Linked DNA regions of Homo sapiens: region 2 is linked to region 1. Evidence: promoter capture Hi-C in human tissues and cell types (Jung and others, 2019). All regions are on one chromosome and are shown on one strand. Each heading gives the region's core, a stretch centred on a gene start or on the middle of the fragment in contact. The rest is flanking DNA. Distances are from core to core; before and after follow the strand shown.

Region 1 (4,185 bases), core at 787-3,286:
GGATCACGAGGTCAGGAGTTTGAGACCAGCCTGACCAACATGGTGAAACCCTGTCTCTACTAAAAATACAAAAATTAGCCCAGTGTGGTGGTGCATGCCTGTAATCCCAGCTACTCAGGAGGCTGAGGCAGGAGAATTGCTTGAACCCGGGAGGCAGAGGTTGCAGTGAGACGAGATCGTGCCACTGCACTCCAGCCTGGGTGACAGAGCAAGACTCCATCTCAAAATAAATAAATAAAAATTAAAAAAAACATATAATAAAAATAAAAAATTATTTATTTTTACTTTTTTTTTTCTTTTGTAGAGACAGGGTTTTGCCACGTTATCCAGGCTGGTCTTGAGCTACTAGACTCAAGTCATCCACTCTTCTCAGCCTCCCAAAGTGCTGGGATGACAGGAGTGGGCCACTGTGCTGGGTTTTCTTTACTTCTTTTTCTCAGATATCTCATGCCCTAGTATGGCTTCCCCTTCTCCTAGGCCTGGGAGCAATGGCTTTAATAGTAACCACTGTATTTGCATTTTGGAGGACTGCTCCTAAGAGCTGTTTTTATTTAAAGAGTCCCAGCAATCAAATACAGATTGGCTGGCTAGCTCCCACGTTTCCACACAATTCCCTCCTACTTAAGCTCTCTATGTTTACACACAGGACATCTAACTGCTTGTTCTGGTCAAGGTACAGCTTTCCGGAGCTCTGAGAGACGGAAGAGAAAGGGTTGGTACGTTCTGCAGGTGAATGGTGGTCTGCTGAGAGAGAGACAGACAGAGAGACATAGTCCAAGGTAACAGGAAAGCTTCTGGCACTGGTGCCTGTGCAGTCAGTGGTGTCACTGCCAGGACAGGAAATAGAGGTAGAGCAGGTTTGGGGGAGGGGAAGAATGATAAGTTCAATTTGGGACCTTTATTCATTAGCTCCTTGGGCATTACTAGGTGGCAGGTACTGTGTCAGGAACAACTGTGAACAAAAGAAATAAGGTCCCTGCTCTCCTGAAGCTTACATTCCTGTATGGGAAGGACAACTTAAATAAATCAACAAACTAACTGCAGAAGCCCTGGTTCTATAGTCGTGTGACAGACTGCGCTGCAAAGGCGGCCAGGAAAGTCTCCATCTGGGGGAGACCTGGAGATTAGAAGATGTCAGGTTGAGTATGACAATGACCCAGTGACATAGGCTGAGAGAAGCAGTTTGGATATCTAGGTCTGGGCTGGAGATGATCAGAAAAGAAGCAAAAAGCATACTGCAAAATATACGCAGCATATACTACTACTTATAGGGAGATCAAAAATCCACATAATGATAATGATTATTAATTATTTGAGACAGAGTCTCGCTTTGTCGTCCAGGCTGGAGTGCAGTGGCAAGATCTTGGCTCACTGCAGCCCCCGCCTCCCGGGCTCAAGCGATTATCCAGCCTCAGCCACCCAAGTAGCTGGGATGACAGGGGTGCGCCGCCTCGTCCGGCTAACTTTTGTATTTCTAGTAGAGACACGGTTTCGCCGTCTTGGACAGGTTGGTCTGTAACTCCTGGCTTCAGGCGATCCGCCCGCCCGCCTCGGCCTCCCAAAGTGTTGAGATTGCAGGCGTGAGCCACCGTGAGGGCCTCACTGATTATCTAAGGCTGTTTAGATTATAGATTTTTAGATTATGTTTTTGTTTCCCTAAACGGGGTGGTGAGTACAGAGGTGTGAGATGTAACACGTAATTTGTACACCTTTTGCACACGTAAATATCACAAAGTAAACTTTTAAAATAAGGCAAGGCCTAGGGCCTCGCGAGGCTTCTCTGAGGAGCGAGGACCAGTCAGTCACAGCCAGTTTCCACTGCCTCCACGCTCCGGCCTAGGCCAGCCCCTCTCCCCAGTCATTCGCTCGGGGCTGGCTCCGCCCCAGAACTGCGCAACCTCCCCGCCCACATCCGCGTCCTAACCAATGAGCGCTCGAAATTTGGGTCCACACCCCCGTCACGCCCCGCCCCAGACTCGCGCGCCCGTGACGTCACGGTCCGGCCCCCGCCACGTGACGGCCGCGCGCCGGGCTCTAGCTCCCCGCCGGGCTCGCGCCGCAGAGGCCGGTGAGGCGCCGGCGGCCACGCCGCGGAAGGCGCGGGCCGAGCAGAGCCGGGCGTTGGAGCCCGCGCGCGCATGGAGGCGTTGCCGGCAGCCCCCTGAGGGCAGCGGGGAGACAAGACCCGGCGACCTCGCGCATCCCTCGAGCCGCCACGCGCTCTCGCCACCGGGCGGCGACGGGCCGCGGAGCCGGCGCGGCCATGGCGACGGGCGGCCAGCAGAAGGAGAACACGCTGCTTCACCTCTTCGCCGGCGGGTGAGTTCCCGGGCCCAGCCGCGCGCGCCCCACCGCCTGCGGTCCCCTCGGCCTTCGCCCCGGGCGCGGCCCCAGCCTCCCGCGGCGGTTACCGGCCTTCCCCGGGCTACGGCGCCGGCGCTCGGGAGGAGGAAGTCCCGGCGTCGGGGACTGGTGGGCAGGGCCGAGGGAGGGGGTCGGGCCTTCCTCACCCCTACGTCCTGACCGCAGCCCCGAGGGCGGCTGTGCCCCGCCGCCCGTCCTCCCCGCGGCGTCCCCAGCTTTTCCCCATTCTGAAGAGTCAGTGGCCGGTGAGTGGTGCTCGGCGGCGGTCCAGCCTGGACGCTGTGGCGCGGCCCCCCCTCCCCCGCCCCCTTCTCCTGGGGCCTCTCCCGAAGCGCAGCGCCTCAGAGCCCGTGGTAGGATCGCTGATGCTCGGGTGTGCCCGAGGTTCCTCAGGGCAGCGCGGGAGGTCATCCGGACGGGCAAAAAGGTCTGCGGACGTTGGACGTCAGCAAGGCCTGGGTGGTGCTGGTGAACGGTGATGCTTGCGGCCACACGCGGGGTGGCTAAGCCAGGGACCCGAACTCATATGAGGTCTGGAAGGTGTGTTGAGACACTTCTCGCCGGCTGGTAGACGCTTCCAACGCCAGAGACCGCAGAATTGTAAGGTGTTCCTTGTTTTGAAAGCTGCATTAGGTCTATGGTCAGGCACCTTTTTTCCAGCGGAGACAATGCATTTTTAGGAGGTTGAGTTCTGCGGTTAGGAAGGGAGATGGTACCCCTCGCCACCTCCCCTTGTCACCTCCCGCCGAGAATAGAAGGTAAAATATTTTTGAGTATTAGTAATTTTCTTTTTTCCTTTATCACAGCCGGTGGCTTGGGGTCCTTTCGGAGTCTTACAGATATTTGGAGTATTAATTTGAGGACCTCATCGGCCTGGCACAGGAATTTTTGAGTGTAGGATATTTTGCATAAAATAGTTTATTCTGGGATGATCATCTTGGCTTGAGTAGTTGCAGCCTGGATTCCTACCTGGATATGTTCCTTACAACAAACAATGGTTGAGAAACTTATCTTGGAAGATGACTGATGAAAGCGTCCCTGAGCTTTTTTTGTACTTGTATTGTGGGCAGTCACCAGGTTACTTTAACCAAAAACTTCGGTGGGTCTTCATAGATTGGAAGAGTTTCTCATTCATCTCTTCCCTGTCATTCATTCCCTTGCAACCCTTCCCTCCATGTCTCCATTGAGACTTCCTTTTTTTTTTTGAGAGGGAGTCTTCCTCTGTCGCCCAGGCTGGAGTGCAGTGGTGCGATCTTTGGGCTCACTGCAACTTCCGCCTCCCGGATTCAGGCGATTCTCCTGCCTCAGCCTCCCGAGTAGCTGGGATTACAGGCCCCGCCACCAAGCCTGGCTAATTTTTTTTTTCTTTTTTTTTTTTTGAGACGGAGTTTCGCTCTGTAGCCCAGGCTGGAGTGCACTGGCGCCATCTCAGCTCACTGCAAGCTCCGCCTCCCGGGTTCACGCCATTCTCCTGTCTCAGCCTCCCGAGTAGCTGGGACTACAGGCACCCGCCACTACGCCCAGCTTTTTGTATTTTTAGTAGAGACGGGGTTTCACCGTGTTAGCCAGGATGGTCTCGATCTCCTGACCTCGTGATCCGCCCGCCTCGGCCTCCCAAAGTGCTGGGATTACAAGTGTGAGCCACTGCGCCCGGCCACGCCCAGCTAATTTTTTTGTGTTTTTGCTAAGAGGCGGAGTTTTGCCATGTTGGCCAGGCTGGCACTCCTGACCTCAAGTGATGGCCCACCTTGGCCTCCCAAATTGCTGGGATTACAGGCGTGAGCCACCATGCCCGGCAGAGACTTCCTTTCAGAGTAACAC
Region 2 (4,185 bases), core at 669-3,168, 36 kb after region 1:
CTGGTTGTGTCCCCTGATCCGCAGTCCCACCTGTTGTCTCAGAGAGTCAGTGACTGTCTCTCCTTTGCAGACCCCACCCCAGTTGAAGTGCTGTGGGTTCTCCTCCGGATGGTCTCCCTTTCAAAAGGGAAGACAGTACAGGCACAACACTGAGTGTCCTCAGACCTCAGAGGGCTAATTTTAGTCTCCAAAGGCCCTCAGCTGTAATAGGTTTCTACCCTCAAGCTCCAGCCAGGGGTTTGTAACATTTTGTGGGGCTCTGTGGATTCCTTTGGTAGTCTGGTGACACCTGCAGGCCCTTTTTAGAATAATGTTGTTTTTTGAGTTTTTTTGTTTTTTTGTTGTTGTTGTTGTTGTTTTGTTTTTTTGTTTTGAGATAGGGTCTTACTTGTTGCCGAAGCTGAAGTGCAGTGGTCCAATCTTGGCTCACTGCAATCTATGCCTCCTAAGTAGAATAATGTATTTTGTTTCCTTTTCTTTTCTTTTTTTTTTTTTTTTGTTCTTTTGAGGCAGGGCCTCATCTATCACCCAGCCTCGACCTCCCAGGCTCAAGCAATCCTCCTGCCTCAGCCTCACCTCCTCAGTAGTTTGAGACCACAGGTGCATGCCACCACACCCAGCTAATTTTGTTTTTCTTGTAGAGATGGATCTTGCCATGTTGCCCAGGCTGGTCTCAACTCCTGGGCTCAAGCAGTCCTCCTGCCTTGGCTTCCCAAAGTGCTGGTATTACAGGCGTGAACCACCACACCAGGCCTTAATAAGGTTTTTAAAAATACACTTGTCAGTGATACAGTAGTATGCCTCTTTAACACATTAAATTAATAAGATATGGCAGTAGTCCAGTAACTACTATAATTTCTAAGAAATGATAAACAGTGTCCTGTGATGTTTTCAACAAATGTAATGTGACATGAAAATATTTCTGTGTGTGTCAAATCACAGTTACTACTGCTGCTACTACTGTGGCCTGTGTATTTACATTCGTAATGAATACAATTAACCCAAGCTAATGGAACCCGGTGTAAAGAGTGTTTTAGACTTAATAAAGCTAAGCTTCATCTAAGTTGTAAAAAACCCTAGCTGAAATAAAATAAACTATGAAGGTGGCTTTAATACTTCTGAAGACACAATAGCTAAGACCCAAATTGGGATTAGATACCCCACTATGCTTAGCCCTAAACTCCAATAGTTAACAACTTCAACTATTGGATTTCGGTTAGGGATTAGGGTTAAAGATGCATTTTCTCCCCAGTCCAAGTGAAGGAACTACCAGCATTCTATTAAGAACCCCTGTAGGCCGGGTGCGGTGGCTCACACCTGTAATCCCAGCACTTTGAGAGGCTGAGGCGGGCAGATCACGAGGTCAGGAGATCGAGACCAACCTGGCTAACACGGTGAAACCCTGTCTCTACTAAAAATACAAAAAATAAGCCGGGCGTGATGGTGGGCGCCTGTAGTCCCAGCTACTTGGGAGACTGAGGCAGGAGAATGGCGTTAACCCGGGAGGTGGAGCTTGCAGTGCGCCAAGATCGTGCCACTGCACTCCAGCCTGGGTGACAGAGCGAGACTCTGGCTCAAAAAAAAAAAAAAAAAAAAAAATAAGAACCCCTGTATTACTGTGTTGCCTGGAAATGTATGCACTGGAAACTTCCAGCCAGTCCACTCTGATTTTCAGCTGCCTCTAAAGAAAGGAGGCAGAGCTGGGCGTAGTGGCTCATGCCTGTAATCCCAGCACTTTGGGAGGCCGAGGCGGGTGGGTCACAAACTCAGGAGTTCGAGACCAGCCTGGCCAACATGGTGAAACCCCGTCTCTACTAAAAATACAAAAATTAGCCAGGCGTGGTGGTGGGCGCCTGTAATCCTAGCTACTTAGTAGAGTGAGGCAGGAGAATCACTTGAACCCGGGAGGTGGAGGTTGCAGTGAGCCGAGATCACACCACTGCACTTCAGCATGGGTGATAGAGTAAGACTCTGTCTGGAAAAAAAAACGAAAGCAAAACGAAAGGAGGCAGGGAGTACCCCAGGAAGGGTAGGTAGGGGCCCCAGTTCATTTTTCTTCCTAATGACCATGATAACCTCTGCATGAGTCACTTGACTCCAAGTTCGCCCAATCAATCTATTCTGCCCAAAAGAGCCTTCTAACATGCATCAGGTATAATCATTTGAACAGACCACTTGTTCAGACTCTTTTGATGAATCTGTTCCTCTCAGGGTAAATTCCTAATTCAGCAGTCCTGTAGTTTTCCAAAAATGTCATGTGCTTTTATTGCTCTGTCTCCCCACATATGCTGTCCCTCACCAGAGATTCCCCCTTCCCCTTCCTGGTCATGCTGTCACCTGTTGTGGAAGCCTTTGGTAATTCCTCCTAATTCCAAGTGTCCCATAGTAAACTCATATCACTTCTGTTTAGCAAGGGATAAATGCGTCCATCAGCTGAGAGCCTGTATATGTATTCTTGTCATTCTGCCTAATGATGGTGCTCAAGAATACTTTAGAACTTTGGGTGAGCTCTGTTAATATTTGTCTCTCAGCAGTGAATATTTGTTGCTTGCACTAGTCACTAGGGAAACAGCAGGGAATTAAGACCTAGCTTCTAGGAACTTACAGCTTCACAGATAAGATAATTAAAGTTTGGTGGGATAAGGTTGCTGAGGGTGCCACTAGACCTTCAAGAGTCACCCAGTACAGGTTGGGTTAAGAGAGAGAAGGTTGGGAGGGCCTTCAGAGGCAGCAGCACCCAACTCCCATCTTAAGAATAGCCAGGTGGGCTTTGCCGTGTCTACTGTGAAAATGAAGACCATTCACAGCAATCAGACTGTTGTCATTCCAGAAAATGTCAACATTACCCTGAAGAGATGCACAGTTACTGTGAATGGCCCCAGAGGAACCATGCAGAGGGACTTCAGTCACATCAATGTAGAACTCAGTCTAAAGAGGCTCTGGAGTGCCACACGGTGGGGTAACAGAAAGGAACTGGCTACCGTTCGAACTGTTGGTAGTTATGTGCAGAACACGATCAAGGGTGTTACACTGGGCTTCTGTTACAAGATGAGGTCTGCGTATGCTCACTTCCCCACCGACATTGTTATCCAGGAGGATGGGTCTCTTGTTGAAATCCGAAATTTCTTGGATGAAAAATACACCCGCAGGGTTCAGATGAGACCAGGTGTTGCTTGTTCAGTATCTCAAGCCTAGAAAGATGAATTTAATCCTTGAAGGAAATGACATCGAGCTTGTTTCAAATTCAGTTGCCTTGATTCAGCAAGCCACAACAGTTAAGGATATCAGGAAGTTTGGGGATGGTATCTATGTCTCTGAAAAAGGAACTGTTCAGCAGGCTGATGAATAAGATCTAAGAGTTGTCCCGCTACAGAAACAACATGCTGGATGATTCCTAAGACCTATTGGTGATATTTAAATGATGCCATAAAAGACATTGATTTGGGAAGAAAAGAATAGCCAGGTGGGGGCGGCAGAGAAGAGTCTTTTGGGCAGAGAGAAGGTGAGTGTAGAAATCTTGAGTCAAGAAAGCATGGTTAGGCTGGACTCGGTGCCTCACACCTGTAATCCCAGTACTTTGGGAGGCCGAGGTGTGCGGATCACTTGAGCTCAGGATTTCGAGACCAGCCTGGCCAACATGGTGAAACCCTGTCCTACAAAAATTAGCCGGGTGTGGTGTCATGCCTCGGGAGGCTGAGGCAGGAGAATGGCGTGAACCCGGGAGCCTGTAATCCCAGGGAGGCTGAAGCAGGAGAATTGCTTGAACCCAGAAGTTGAGGTTGCAGCTGAGATTGCACCATTGCACTCCACCCTAGGGGACAGAGTGAGTAAGACTCCATCTCAAAAAAATGAAAAAAGGAAAAAAGAAAAGAAAGCATGGTTAGTTCTGGGGAGCCGTAAGACAGGGAGTGTAGTTGGCGTGTAGTACGTGCATCTGCGCTGGAGAAGGGAGTTATGGAAGAATAAGGCTGGAGGAGCAGGGGAGCCCGATCCTTCCCAGGCCTGAAAGGGAGTTTGGAGTTGGGCTTTGAGGGCAGTGGAAAGTCATCAGAGCAGTGGTCCTCAGGGGAAATGGAGGATGGAGGTAGGGGGTGCCCTCCAGGGGACATTCAGCATTTAAGTTTGGAGACATTTGAAGTTGCCACAACTTAGGTGAGTGTTTTTGGTGCCTAGTGTGAATAGAGG

The links. The method cuts DNA at HindIII sites, captures the fragments that hold promoters and counts their contacts. A contact is called where the count stands out against the background at its distance.
Region 2: a contact is called between a fragment that was not itself captured here and the fragment with the promoter of SLC25A33 in region 1, in 1 of the 25 tissues and cell types used here (liver).

Annotation. Positions count from the first base shown.
Region 1 is chr1:9,537,429-9,541,613 of GRCh38, forward strand. SLC25A33 (solute carrier family 25 member 33) reads left to right here and starts at 2,037. Exons shown (of 7, transcript NM_032315.3): 1 at 2,037-2,319. The coding sequence starts at 2,264. RefSeq lists silencers at 1,793-2,312, 2,333-2,692 and enhancers at 1,802-2,096, 2,763-2,892, 3,918-4,185. The HindIII fragment of the contact is 17,899 bases long and covers 1-4,185 here.
Region 2 is chr1:9,573,637-9,577,821 of GRCh38, forward strand. The region is part of intron 5 of SLC25A33 (solute carrier family 25 member 33); the gene reads left to right. It also overlaps the pseudogene RPL9P11. Among named protein-coding and RNA genes, the nearest start is that of TMEM201, 13 kb to the right of the region's middle. The HindIII fragment of the contact is 3,228 bases long and covers 305-3,532 here.